Regions from separate parts of the Homo sapiens genome. Here regions 2 and 3 are each linked to region 1. Evidence: promoter capture Hi-C in 16 types of primary human blood cells and fetal thymus (Javierre and others, 2016). All regions are on one chromosome and are shown on one strand. Each heading gives the region's core, a stretch centred on a gene start or on the middle of the fragment in contact. The rest is flanking DNA. Distances are from core to core; before and after follow the strand shown.

Region 1 (3,949 bases), core at 547-3,046:
AACTGTTCTGGTCAATTTTCCAATATTCCGGTATTAGTTTTTAGTATCTGAGTGTTCAAGTGAATTAACTCATGTAATCCAGCTTTTACAGAGAACTTACTATGTGCAGGGTCTATGGCTGGGTCCTAGTGTCACAGAGATGAATAAGGCACAGTCTCTGACCTGAAAAGTGGCAATCACTATCTGTTGGGGGAGGGGCAGACAGATGTAATGGTCCAATTTTGGCCACAGACTGATTTTGAAGGGGTGGGCAGAGTAAAAGTTTCTAAGGAGACACATTGAGCTGTATCTGGAAGAGTAAGAGACCAGCTACATGAGGAACTGGGAGCAGGCGAGAGTGTTTCATGCAGAAGCAACAGCAGATACAAAGGCTGTGAGGTGGCTGAGTTTGACGTGGTTAGGAACTTAACGAAGGCTAGTGTGACAGGAGCTTAACAGAGCCGGGAGAGTGGTAGTAGGTTACATTAGCCATGTATTTTTATATCAACGGCCTAACCCTTAAGCCAGGCAGCTGTTGGGCAAATTCGTGTTCCCAGTCTTCAGGGGCCTTGCTCAGAACAGGTAGCTGGTTTAGCACTGTCAGTCAGAGGAGGGACTGGGCCTGATCCTTTCCCCTGCGTCTGGTGCCAAGGACAGGGTAGGGCACAGAGGTTTCAGTCAAGATCTGCTGACAGCACGCTTGAGAAGAGAACAGGAAGTGCAGGCTTTGTTGAAGGAGGCTCAGGCGTGGCTCTGTCTTCTTTGGCGCACTCATTCTCAAGTCGCTGACACCTCCTCCACCAGAGAGGTAGCTGGGAGAATGAGATGCAGGGAGGAAGCATTTACAGGCCCCACCGAAAAACCTTAAAGGGCTGAGAGCTTGAGGGCAGGTAGGAAAAAGGGCTGTGAGAGCTAAGGGAGGGCATCCCACTTAGCTTGGAGGGGAAGGGAGGCGGGGTCGGGAAAGCAGATGGCACCCTTTAGCCCAGACTCAAGGAATGTGTAGGGGAATTTTAGCTAGAGTGGTTTGGACATTTCATTTTGCTTTCTGGCATCATCATTTCCTCAGAAAACACTCGCAGGCCCCAGTGGCCCTCGTGGGCCTCCCCCGGGGCGGGTCTTAGCTTCACTCGGCAACCCTCTGCAAAAGAGCAGGCCCTCCCAGGAGCGCCGAGTCCTGTCTGCAGTTTGCTGATTTTCCCACCAGGGGCCGCTGCGCATGGGCGACGAAGCGCGCGGGTTCCCAAGCCGCAGAGAGGCGGAAGCCGATTGGTTGTCAGGCGAGGCGCGAGGGCGGAGCCTGGGAACTGGCCGGGAGTTGGGGGCTGGGAGCTCGCCCCCGGGCCGAGCCGGGTCAGGCTGTTGTCGCCTCAGGCAGCTCCTGGGAGGCTAACGTCGTGTCCTGGGCCTCTGTTTAGACAGCTCTAGAACTGAGGCGAGTGGAGCAGCACCAAGGCCCGGAGATCGGGGCAGGGCAGCTGCTGTCGCCGCCGCCGCAGGCCTGAGTTACCTGAGTAACTGCGGGTCAGGGACCCGCCCGACGGCCCGCGGTTGGCGCTGGAGACTCTCGGTGGGGAAAGGGAAGCTGGGACTTGATCCTTTGCGCGGGATCCTGGCAAAGACTAGCGCGGGCCGGGGGTCCGGGAGAGCCCGCTAGGGGCGGGGATTCCGGGGAGCCGTCTTCACCGGTTATTCCGGGATCCAGCTGGGCGCTGGGGCTGGCCCGGGCTTCGCTGGGGACCGGGCGGCGCGGGGCGGGCGCGGAGACGCACGCCCCCGCCCGCCCCGGGCCCGCCCCGCGCCGCCCGCCCGCCTGGAAGCCGCTGTCCTGGGCCTGGCCGGTGTGCGTCCGCCTGCTGGACCTGGGCACCGCCAGCCGCCTGGGCACGGGACTGGGCGGGGGCGCTGACCTCGGCCTAGGAGGCCCAGGATCCCGGAGACGCCCGCGCCCTCAGGACCCTGCGGGTCGCACGCCCTCCCCAGCTTCTGCTGCTCGCCGCTCTTCGGCAGGGCGAGGTCAGGTGCCCCCTTCTCGCCTCTCTTCTCTTCTCTTCTCTTCCTCCTCCACTTCTGTGCCCGCGGAGACTCCGGCCGCCCCCTTCCGCAGGGGTGTAGTAATCTGCGGAGCTGACAGCAGCCCCGCAGCCACCCTGCCCGAAGTCTCCGGAAGCGGCACGAGCTCAGGCCGCCGCAGCCCCGGCGGACCCACTGTTGGACCTGAGGAGCCAGCCCTCCTCCCGCACCCAAACTTGGAGCACTTGACCTTTGGCTGTTGGAGGGGGCAGGCTCGCGGGTGGCTGGACAGCTGCGGAGCCGCGAGGGCATCTTGCCTGGAGACCGTCGGCTGCACTCCCGGGCTCCTGGCTTTGCCTCTGGGATCCCGAGGTGTCCACATCAGACGCATGTTGACTGAGACCTAGAGTCATGGATGTATGCGTCCGTCTTGCCCTGTGGCTCCTCTGGGGACTCCTCCTGCACCAGGGCCAGAGCCTCAGCCATAGTCACAGTGAGAAGGCGACAGGAACCAGCTCGGGGGCCAACTCTGAGGAGTCCACTGCAGCAGGTAAGGCCTTGCTGCGGGCTGGACTGGGCTGGAGGCTTTGGCTCAGGACTGAGTGGCCCGAAGTGGGCAAGTTGAAATCTAGGTTTGTACATGTGAGGTTCATGGAGGATTCACACATGGCACTGCCTGTTCCAAGTAGTTCAAGAAGTTCTTTCTGGTCAGTAGTCATGGCAAATGCCTGTATCTTTCCTGAACAACTTTCCTCATCCCCCGCACTCAGGATTTTTTTTGTTGGCAGTAAGAAGAAGCCTTTGGGGCAACTTGACCTTTTAGATCAGCAAGGAAAGACCCCATCTTAGGCCTACTTGTCTGGAAGAATGGCCTGGTGAGATGATAAGTTCATTGCTCCTATTCGGTTTTAGTACTGAGCAGCATGGGGGAGGTTGGGGCCACTTATGTTGGAAAGGGAAAGTTAAGGCTGGGCCACCTCTGTTGCCTGAAAGCCTGGTGTTCAGGTGTGCCTATTCCAACAACCGTGGGAACCCTAGTCCCACCCTTCCCTTAGGTAGTCTTGTCTCTTTGCTGTGCGCATTTGAAATATCCAGGCGGTTTCTTAGATGGAATCCTATTTACAACTAGGGTGTTAAATGGCCTTTTCTTGACATAGACATGATATAATTCCTGGGACCACTTGTTGACTTATTCTGTTTCTTCTGACTGATGAGGGTGGGAATTCCATGCTACAGGTTTTTTTTTTTGTTTTTTTTTTTTTTTCCCTGAGTCTGCTTGCTAGGGAAACCATGCTACTTTTGATCTGTCATGGTTTTTCCTATGCAGTTGTGAAGGCTTATCAGGCAGCAGGAGCCCTGGTATACTTTTGCAGTAGAAAGGAACACTTTTATGTTTTGTTTTGTTTTTTTGAGACAGGGTCTTGATCTGTCGTCCAAGCTGGAATGCAGTAGTGTGATCACAGCTCACTACAGCCTCAAACTCCTGGGTTCAAGTGATCCTCCTGCCTCAGCCTCCCGGTAGCTGGGACTAAACACAAGAGCCACTGGGCCTGGCTAACTTTTTTTTTCTTTCTATTTTTAATTTTTTGAACAGACACTGTCTCTCTGTGTTGTGCAGGGATCCCTCCCAAAGTGCTGGGATTACAGGTGTGAGCCACTGTACCCATCAAGGAACTCTATTAAAATCCAGTCATTTTACATAAGGCTTACGAGATCAGTTCTCTTTTCCCATTTCTCTCACCCTTTGGCTGTGATCTGCCCAAAGCTGTGACCTGCAGTGTGGGGAGAGTTTATAGATGAGTTGTTTCTGAGCATAAGCAAGTTCAAATGAGGGAATGGCTCAGTGGGCACCTGCTGATACAAGTCAGAAAAGGAAATATAGGTCATGGTGGCTGGGGAGTTTCATGGATGGATCCAGAAGCTGGCTTTGGTGGTAGACCCTTTATTGGGCAATACC
Region 2 (3,949 bases), core at 1,083-3,582, 120 kb before region 1:
AGAAAACAAAATATATATATATATATAAATGCAAGGATACAATGCATTTGTAACACAGAGCTCGGTATTCTTTTTGAAGAAGTGGTCTTCAAAATGCTCAGATCAATGGTATCATTGGGGCAGAATGTGTGTAGAGCAAACTGTAAAGAAAATCAAGAATCAAATAAGCTAATAGGTCAAATTTAGGAAGAGACATTTCATAAGATACAATACTCATATAAATTCACTTACACAGTGTTCACTGTCACTACTAATCAAAGAAAGGAAAATTTAAACAACCCTGATGAAATATTTTATGCATACCTATCACTGAAATAGCTGCATAAAAAGCCATAGTCTTTGACTTCTAGAAACATTATAGACTGGTTTGTCTAAAGGAAATAATACGACAGTATACAGGGCAAGTAGTGTGTGTGTGTGTGTGTGTGTGTGTGTGTGTGTGTGTGTGTAATTGTCTAAAGGAAATAATATGACAGTATACAGGGCAAATACTGTGTGTGTGTGTGTGCGTGCGTGTATGTAATTGTCCAAAGGAAATAATATGACAATATACAACAGGACAAGTACTGTGTGTTTGTGCGTGTACACACACACACACACACCCAGGCTGGAGTGTAGTGGCATGATCTTGGCTTGCTGCAACCTCTGCCTCCAGGCTCAAGTGATCCTCTAACCTCAGACTCCCAAGTAGCTGGGACTACAGGGGTGAGTCACCACACCAACAACAGCTAATTTTGTGTGTGTGTGTGTGTGTGTGTTTTGTTTTTTTTTTCAGAGATGGGGTTTCGCCATGTTGCCCAGGCTGGTCTTGAACTCCTGAAATTGAACTATCTGCCCACCTTGGCCTCCCAAAATGCCAGGATTACAGGAGTCAGCCACCATGCCTGGCCTCTATTTTTTAACCTCATAATTTTAATCATGAAAATTTAACTCGAACTAGAAAGAAAATAAATTCCTAAGCATTCACTGCATAGTATATATACAGTCAAGATATGGAAACAACCTACGTGTCCAATATTAAGTTAATAGTTGTAGGCGGGGTGCAGTGGCTCATGCCTGTAATCCCAGCACTGGGAGGTCGTGGCGAGCAGATCACTTGAGGTGAGGAGTTTGAGACCAACCTGGCCAATACAGTGAAACCCCACCTCTACTAAAAATACAAAAAATTAGCTGGGCGTGGGGGCGCACACCTATAACCCCAGCTGGAACCCAGGAAGTGGAGGTTTCAGTGAGCCGAGATCGCGCCACTGCACTCCAGCCTGGGTGAAAGAGCGAGACTCTGCCTCAAACAAACAAACAAAAAAGTTGTAAACATCATGACACATCAACATAGGTTATGTAGTTATTAAAAATAATAATTTGTTTCATTGTGGAAATATGAAATTATCTTTAAGTAAAATTTCCAGAATAAAAATATTATGTACATTAAGGCTACAGAGGAAGGCAGCATACAAACAAAAATGTGGTTTTTTCTTTTCCCCCAAATCCAGGTGTCTTCCTGAAGAAAATGCTTAGGCTATCCTTATAAGTTTATTATTTACATTTATTTAACATTCACATAATATAAACTGAAAGAAAAAAGAAATCACTAAGCCTAATTTTTTCTCAAAGTGTAAGAACATCTGTTATCAATTGCAGAGAATTTAGGGAACAGACATAAGTAACAATGAAGACTATTCATGATCTACCATTGTACCAAGTAAAACATTAAGAAAAAAGCAAAACCACTACAGTATACCCTGACTGAAGAAGAAACCTCTTTGCAAGATAAAATCTCTTTCCAAAAATACTGATCAAAACCCAAAACATAATAAAGTCATTTTACAGACAAAAATACTACCTTTTTCCCTTATAAACATTTACAAATAAAGTTACTGCCAAAATATAATACAATAATCCACAGTAAAGGAGTGACATAAAACTTTCTGAAAAGTCTCACAATGTTGTGGGGAGTGGGTGGAGAACAAAAGCAGTAATAACAAAAAAAAAAAAAAAAAAAAGAGGCTGGGCGTGGTGGCTCATGCCTGTAATCCCAGCACTTTGGGAGGCCGAGGCAGGCGGATCACAAGGTCAGGAGATCGAGACTATCCTGGCTAACATGGTGAAACCCTGTCTCTACTAACAAAATAGAAAAAATTAGCCAGGCATGGTGGTGGGCACCTGTAGTCCCAGCTACTCCGGAGGCTGAGGCAGGAGAATGGCGTGAACCCAGGATACAGAGCTGGCAGTGAGCCAAGGTCGTGCCACTTCACTCTAGCCTAGGCGACAGAGCGAGATTCCGTCTCAAAAACAAACAAACAAACAAAAACAGAACAGGCTGCTATAGCTAAATTAATGAAAAAGAAGAGTCAAAGGTTTCTTAAAATCGATGTATTCAATAAATACTAAAACACCGTACATTCATGTTGATATTTAACTAGACAGGACAAGTTTGCTCAGGATCTCAAACCAAGAGATGTCAATTTTAAGAGCACAGAGTAAATCATCTGTATTCAGAAAGTTCCTAAATCCAATTTAAGAGCAAAAAATAAAGAAAAGTTTTTTTTTTTTTGGTACACAGTACTACAGATTAACAGCATACTGCTATTTTGGGGACTATGCAAGGAGACTCAAGAAAAACTTTAGAGAACTCCAAACCTCACTGGTCATTTTGTTACTGGACAGGCAATTACTCATTTAGAAAACTGACCTGTCTTAGTTGATCCCATCGTTTAACAAGTACAAATCATTCTACCTGGGCGTTCTCAAAAAAAAAAAAAAAAAAAACCAAAGACTTCCTTTCACAAATCCAAACACAAGAAAGTGCATGAGCATGATTTTATATCTGTATGAATAAATATAAACTTTGTGTTAACTGTAGTATTTAAAGACACAGGTAAGAGAGTATCTTGATAGATTAGCAAAAACAAGAAAACAAACAAGCACTAGTTAAGCAACTACTGGTATTACATTCAATCTTGGTCAAAATAATTTGAAAACTTTCCAAAGAACAAATTCCAAAGAAATTTCAAAATAAAAGATTCCAAAAAACTAAATCATAACCAAATGATTAAAGGGATAGGGAAAAGTACAAAAACCAAGTCTTCTGATGAAACACAAGAATCTGATGATACTTTATCCAGAAGAAAGTCAGTGGGTTACCACAAATATACTACAGCAAGGCATGGTGGCTCATGCCAGTAATCCCAGCACTTTGGGAAGCTGAGCAAGCAGATTACTTCAGGTCAGGACTTCAAGAATAGCCTGGCCAAAATGGTGAACCTCTATCTCTACTAAAAAATACAAGAATTAGCCGGGCATGGTGACACATACCTGTAGTCCCAGCTACGCAGGAGGCTGAGACAGGAGAATTGTCTGAACCCAGAGGCAGAGGCTGCAGTGAGCCAAGATGGTGCCACAGCACTCCAGCCTGGGTGACAGAGTAAGACTCCTCTCAAAAAAAAAAAAAAAAAAAAAAGGAAAGAAAGAAAAGAAACCATACATACTAGACTGGTTTTGCTTAGCTTTAGGAAATAAAAGTAGAACCACTGGGTGGAAACTCTATGGAGGAAGGATTTGGTTTCCACACAACCAGAACAGAAGAACAGACTGTACTGCCTGTAAGGAAGCCACCATACCTGAGGTTTTTTTAAGACAAGGCACACTCACATAGTTCTAAAGTACCTTCAACTAAGATTCCGTGGTATAAAGATGTACATTCTAAAAGTAAATACAATTACCTTTAAATGGGCAGTAATGTTAAGGCACACAAATTTAATATTAACTAAATTCTTGTGTCAGGAACTTTGGAAAAAGAGATGGATTATTAAAAACCAGTCAAAAAGCTATACAAGTAAAAATGGCATATTACAATAATTTATGCTACCACCTTCTACTAAAACCAATAAAAAATGAGAAAAAAATAAAATTAAAACAATTTTTTTTTTGAGACAGAGTCTTGCTGTGTCAC
Region 3 (3,949 bases), core at 1,023-3,522, 94 kb before region 1:
CCTCAAAAATAAATAAATAAATAAATAAAATAATATCATCATGTTCCATAAAACTGGTTTACATTTTTCCCAGTAGGTTAAGGTTTTGAAAATTATTGTTCAATCTTTTCTGTATTTTCCAGATTTTCAACAATGAATATACATACTATGAACATGCATTCAAAATTTTTGAAACCGTAAAAAATAAACTACTGAATAATCCCCCAAATCAGAAAGGTTTCAACTTTCTTCTATTATTTTTCTTATTTTATTATTTTTTTTAGAGACCTACTTTCACTATGTTGCCTAGGCTGGAATGCAGTGGCAATTCACAAGTGTGATCATAGCACACTGCAGCCTTGAACTCCTAAGTGATACTCCTGACTCAGCCTCCATAATGGCTGGGACTACAGGTGCTCACCATGATGCCTGGCATATTTTGACTTTCACTAAGAATAACCAGGCCAGGTGCAATGGCTCACACCTGTAATCTCAGCACTTTGGGAGGCTAAGGCGATATAAAGACCCTGTTCTCCACCAAAAAAAAAAAAAAAAACAAAAACAAAACAACACAACAAACCAACAACGACAAAAATAAGAATAACCAATTATCTTCTGTATGCTACCACAGGTTTGAAACCTGGCCTCATACAATGTGTTACTTAACCAAATGTGTTTCCTTTATGGTTTCTCAGCTATTGCTGAAGTAATCCAAAGTAAATGAAAGGCAATTTACATGCCTACTAATTATCTCAAGCCATATCCAGGACTTTAAACCTTTCCCTCTGGTACTTCACATCAAGCTACCGCTTACCTGAGAACTTTTAAATATTTCCAATCATACGAATCAGGAGAATAACGTGTGGTATAGTCAGTGTAACTTTAAGAGAGCCAAACCTGCTTTTTATATGTACCAAAATTAGAAGTGTTTGTATTGGTTCCTAAAGTCAGGGTTGGTTTGTTACCAAAGAGCCCGCCACTGGTTGTACCAAATGAAGGTGCACTGGTTGTGCTGCTTCCAAATGTAGTAAGCTTGTTATTGCCAAACAGGGTCTAAAAAGAATAGAATACAGGAAAATTTAAAATAATATTAAGACACACACCAAACTAAATACAGGTTACCTCAGGTATACTGGGTTGGGTATGGGGTGGGAGAAAGATGTCCTAACATTCATAAAAAAGGTAGAAAAAAGATGAATAAAGGCTATCAAAAAATAATCTGGGCAAGATTAACTTTATAAACACGGAATGCTTCTGGCCTGAAAAGTTAATGGTAACCCCTAAGGATTACGACTGAAACACAATGAATCCAATGAAACCAGATTTCAGTGAGGCAAAGAAAAAAATAACAAGGCCATCAAATATCTTTTTACCTGTTAAGAGAAATGTAGCAAATACTTGCTTTGCCAGAAGAAATCACTACAAGAAAAACTTTGAACATGCTACATGGATGTTCCTTGAAAATGCTATGCTAAGTGAAAGACATCAATCACAAAAGACCACATATTATGATTCCATTTACATGAAGTGTTCAAAATGGTCAAATCCATAGAGAGAAAGTAGGCTTAAGATGATTACAGGAAAATCAGGAGTGACTGCCAATGACTATGGCATTTCTTTTTGGCATAATGAGTATGTTCTAAAATTAAATATGGTGATAGTTGCACACTTTGTTGATATACTAAAAATCACCTAGCTATACACTTTAAAGAGACAAATTGTATGGCATGTGGACTATACATCAATAAATCTGTCACTAGAAAGTACTAGAAGCCGGGCACAGTAGCTCACGCCTGTAATCCCAGCATTCTGAAAGGCCAAGGCGGAAGGATCCTTGAGGCCAGGAGTTACCAGCCTAGCCAACGTGGCAAAATCCCACCTCTACTAAAAAATACAAAAATTAAGGCCAGGAGTGGTGGCTCACGTCTGTAATCCCAGCACTTTCGGAGTCCAAGGCAGGTGGATCACGAGGTCAGGAGTTCGAGACCAGCCTGGCCACCATGGTGAAACCCCATTCTCTACTAAAAATACAAAAATCAGCTGGGCGCAGTGGCGGGCGCCTGTAATCCCAGCTACTCGGGAGGCTGAGGCAGAGAACTGCTTGAACCCGGGAGGCAGAGGTTGCAGTGAGCCGAGATCGCACGCCACTGTACTCCAGCCTGGGCAACAGGCGAGACTCCGTCTCAAAAAAACAAAACAAAACAAAACAAAAAACAAAACAAAAGCCTGGCATGGTGTCACACGCCTGTAATCCCAGCTACTTGGGAGGCTGAGGCACGAGAATCGCTTGAGCCTGGGAGGGAGAGGTTGCAGTGAGCCGAGATCATGCCACTGCAGTACAGCCTGGACAACAGAACGAGACTCGGTTTCAAAAACAACAACAACAACAACAACAACAACAGAAGTACTAGAATGTCTTGAAGCATTATATAATTTTCTCAATTTCTTACCTCAATTATCTGTCCAAAGTTTAAAAAAAGAAAAGAGAAATTTCAATCTCCATGAAAACAGGACCATATGTTTTAGGGACTTTGTGTTCCTTTTTTATTTTTTAAGACAGAGTTTTGCTCTTGTTGCCCAGGCTAGAGTGCAATAGCGCGATCTCGGGTCACTGCAACCTCCACTTCCTGGGTTCAAGTGATTCTCTTGCCTCAGCATCTCAAGTAGCTGGTATTACAGGCACCCACCACCACACCCAGCTAGTGGTTTTTTTTTTTTTTGTATTTTTAGGAGAGACGGGGTTTCACCATGTTGGCCAGATTGGTCTCGAATTCCTGACCTCAGGTGATCCACCCACCTCGGCCTCCCAGAGTGCTGGGATTACAGGCGTGAGCCACCGCGCCTGGCTCTTTTTTAATTTTTTTAACCTACTCACAATAGCAAGTTCAAAGTTTCTTCCATGAGTACCTCAACAATTTCAACAATTTGATCAACCCCAAAAACATTTCATTCCCAAACATCATACCAATTTATCACCTACAAAAGAGGGAAGAACTAGGAGTTAAAAATTATCTGATTCAAATAAAGCAAAAGAATTTCAATTTAGACTCAACAATTTAACCAATGCTATCAGAAGTATGATGCACATAAGCACTGAGGCAAAGAAATTTTAAAAGGGAAAGAATTTACTAATTGAAAACAAACCTGAAGTTAACCTGAAATTTCATTTTATATCAAATAATTTTTTGTTCTCAGAATCAAATCATATTAGGCTGGTGCAATAATACACCCAATAAAAATACCTGCAAAACAGTCAAATCCTTAGAAGAAAATTCCTTTTAACAAATTTACACACATCTTCAAATTACAGTCAACTGCAGAAACCTACCGAACCAACAGCACCAAATCCAGTATTGGTCTGCCCAAAGAGACCTGTTCCTGTTCCAAATGCTGTCCCAGTGCTGGTGTTTGTAGCTGTCCCAAAAAGACCTCCAGGCTGTGAGGCTTGGGTTACTCCAAATAATCCCTGCAAAGAAGTTTATATAGATTAAAAGATATCCTGTAATAGTTTCCGTAACGAATCTCAGAGTAATAAAAAAAAAGTTACCATTTTTTCAAGCTTATATGACAGATATTAGGCTAAATAACTTATATAGATTATTTCCTTCAAAACAACCCTGAAAAGCAGGGAGTATATTTTTCAAAAAGCTCAGAGCATTTTAAAACTTGCCCAAGGTGCCACAGCTCCTGAATGGTAGGAACAGAAGTTCAAACCTATATTTAAGCCCCTGTTCTTCCCAGGATGATGAACTCCAAGGTCTTAGGCGTCTATTAAATAATAAGACTTTAACTCTTGTGCTCTAAGAGATGTCAGGGTTGCAACACTGAGAAGCAAAATAGTATGTCTAGGTCCTTCATTTTCAACGATTTAGGTGAAAAGAACTAATCAGTATCAAGCTGGGGAGTGAACTTAGAATCAAGTAACCAAAAATAATCAGCGAAAATAAATCAACACGGACCGAGGTACGAG

Evidence for each region. Contacts are between HindIII fragments. The CHiCAGO score rates a contact against its expected background, and 5 or more counts as called.
Region 2: a fragment that was not itself captured here is called in contact with the fragment with the promoter of STIM1 in region 1 in 1 of 17 cell types (activated CD4 T cells); the score reaches 5.2 in activated CD4 T cells.
Region 3: a contact is called between a fragment that was not itself captured here and the fragment with the promoter of STIM1 in region 1, in 4 of 17 cell types (naive CD8 T cells, total CD4 T cells, naive B cells and 1 more). The highest score is 8.9, in naive CD8 T cells.

Annotation. Positions count from the first base shown.
Region 1 is chr11:3,853,868-3,857,816 of GRCh38, forward strand. It overlaps STIM1 (stromal interaction molecule 1), which reads left to right and starts at 1,797. Exons shown (of 13, transcript NM_001382567.1): 1 at 1,797-2,542. The coding sequence starts at 2,404. STIM1-AS1 (STIM1 antisense RNA 1) reads right to left here and starts at 1,711. Exons shown (of 2, transcript NR_183662.1): 1 at 1,490-1,711; 2 at 456-791. MIR4687 (microRNA 4687) reads left to right here and starts at 2,195; the gene lies at 2,195-2,274. RefSeq lists enhancers at 773-842, 1,052-1,997, 2,213-2,422, 2,573-2,652, 2,663-2,712 and silencers at 1,183-1,232, 1,713-1,772, 1,833-1,992. The HindIII fragment of the contact is 6,805 bases long and covers 1-3,949 here.
Region 2 is chr11:3,735,342-3,739,290 of GRCh38, forward strand. All of the region lies in intron 12 of NUP98 (nucleoporin 98 and 96 precursor), which reads right to left. Among named protein-coding and RNA genes, the nearest start is that of NUP98, 60 kb to the right of the region's middle. RefSeq lists a silencer at 525-725. The HindIII fragment of the contact is 4,702 bases long and covers 1-3,949 here.
Region 3 is chr11:3,759,595-3,763,543 of GRCh38, forward strand. It overlaps NUP98 (nucleoporin 98 and 96 precursor), which reads right to left. Exons shown (of 33, transcript NM_016320.5): 9 at 3,308-3,445; 10 at 945-1,032. Among named protein-coding and RNA genes, the nearest start is that of NUP98, 36 kb to the right of the region's middle. The HindIII fragment of the contact is 2,527 bases long and covers 1,010-3,536 here.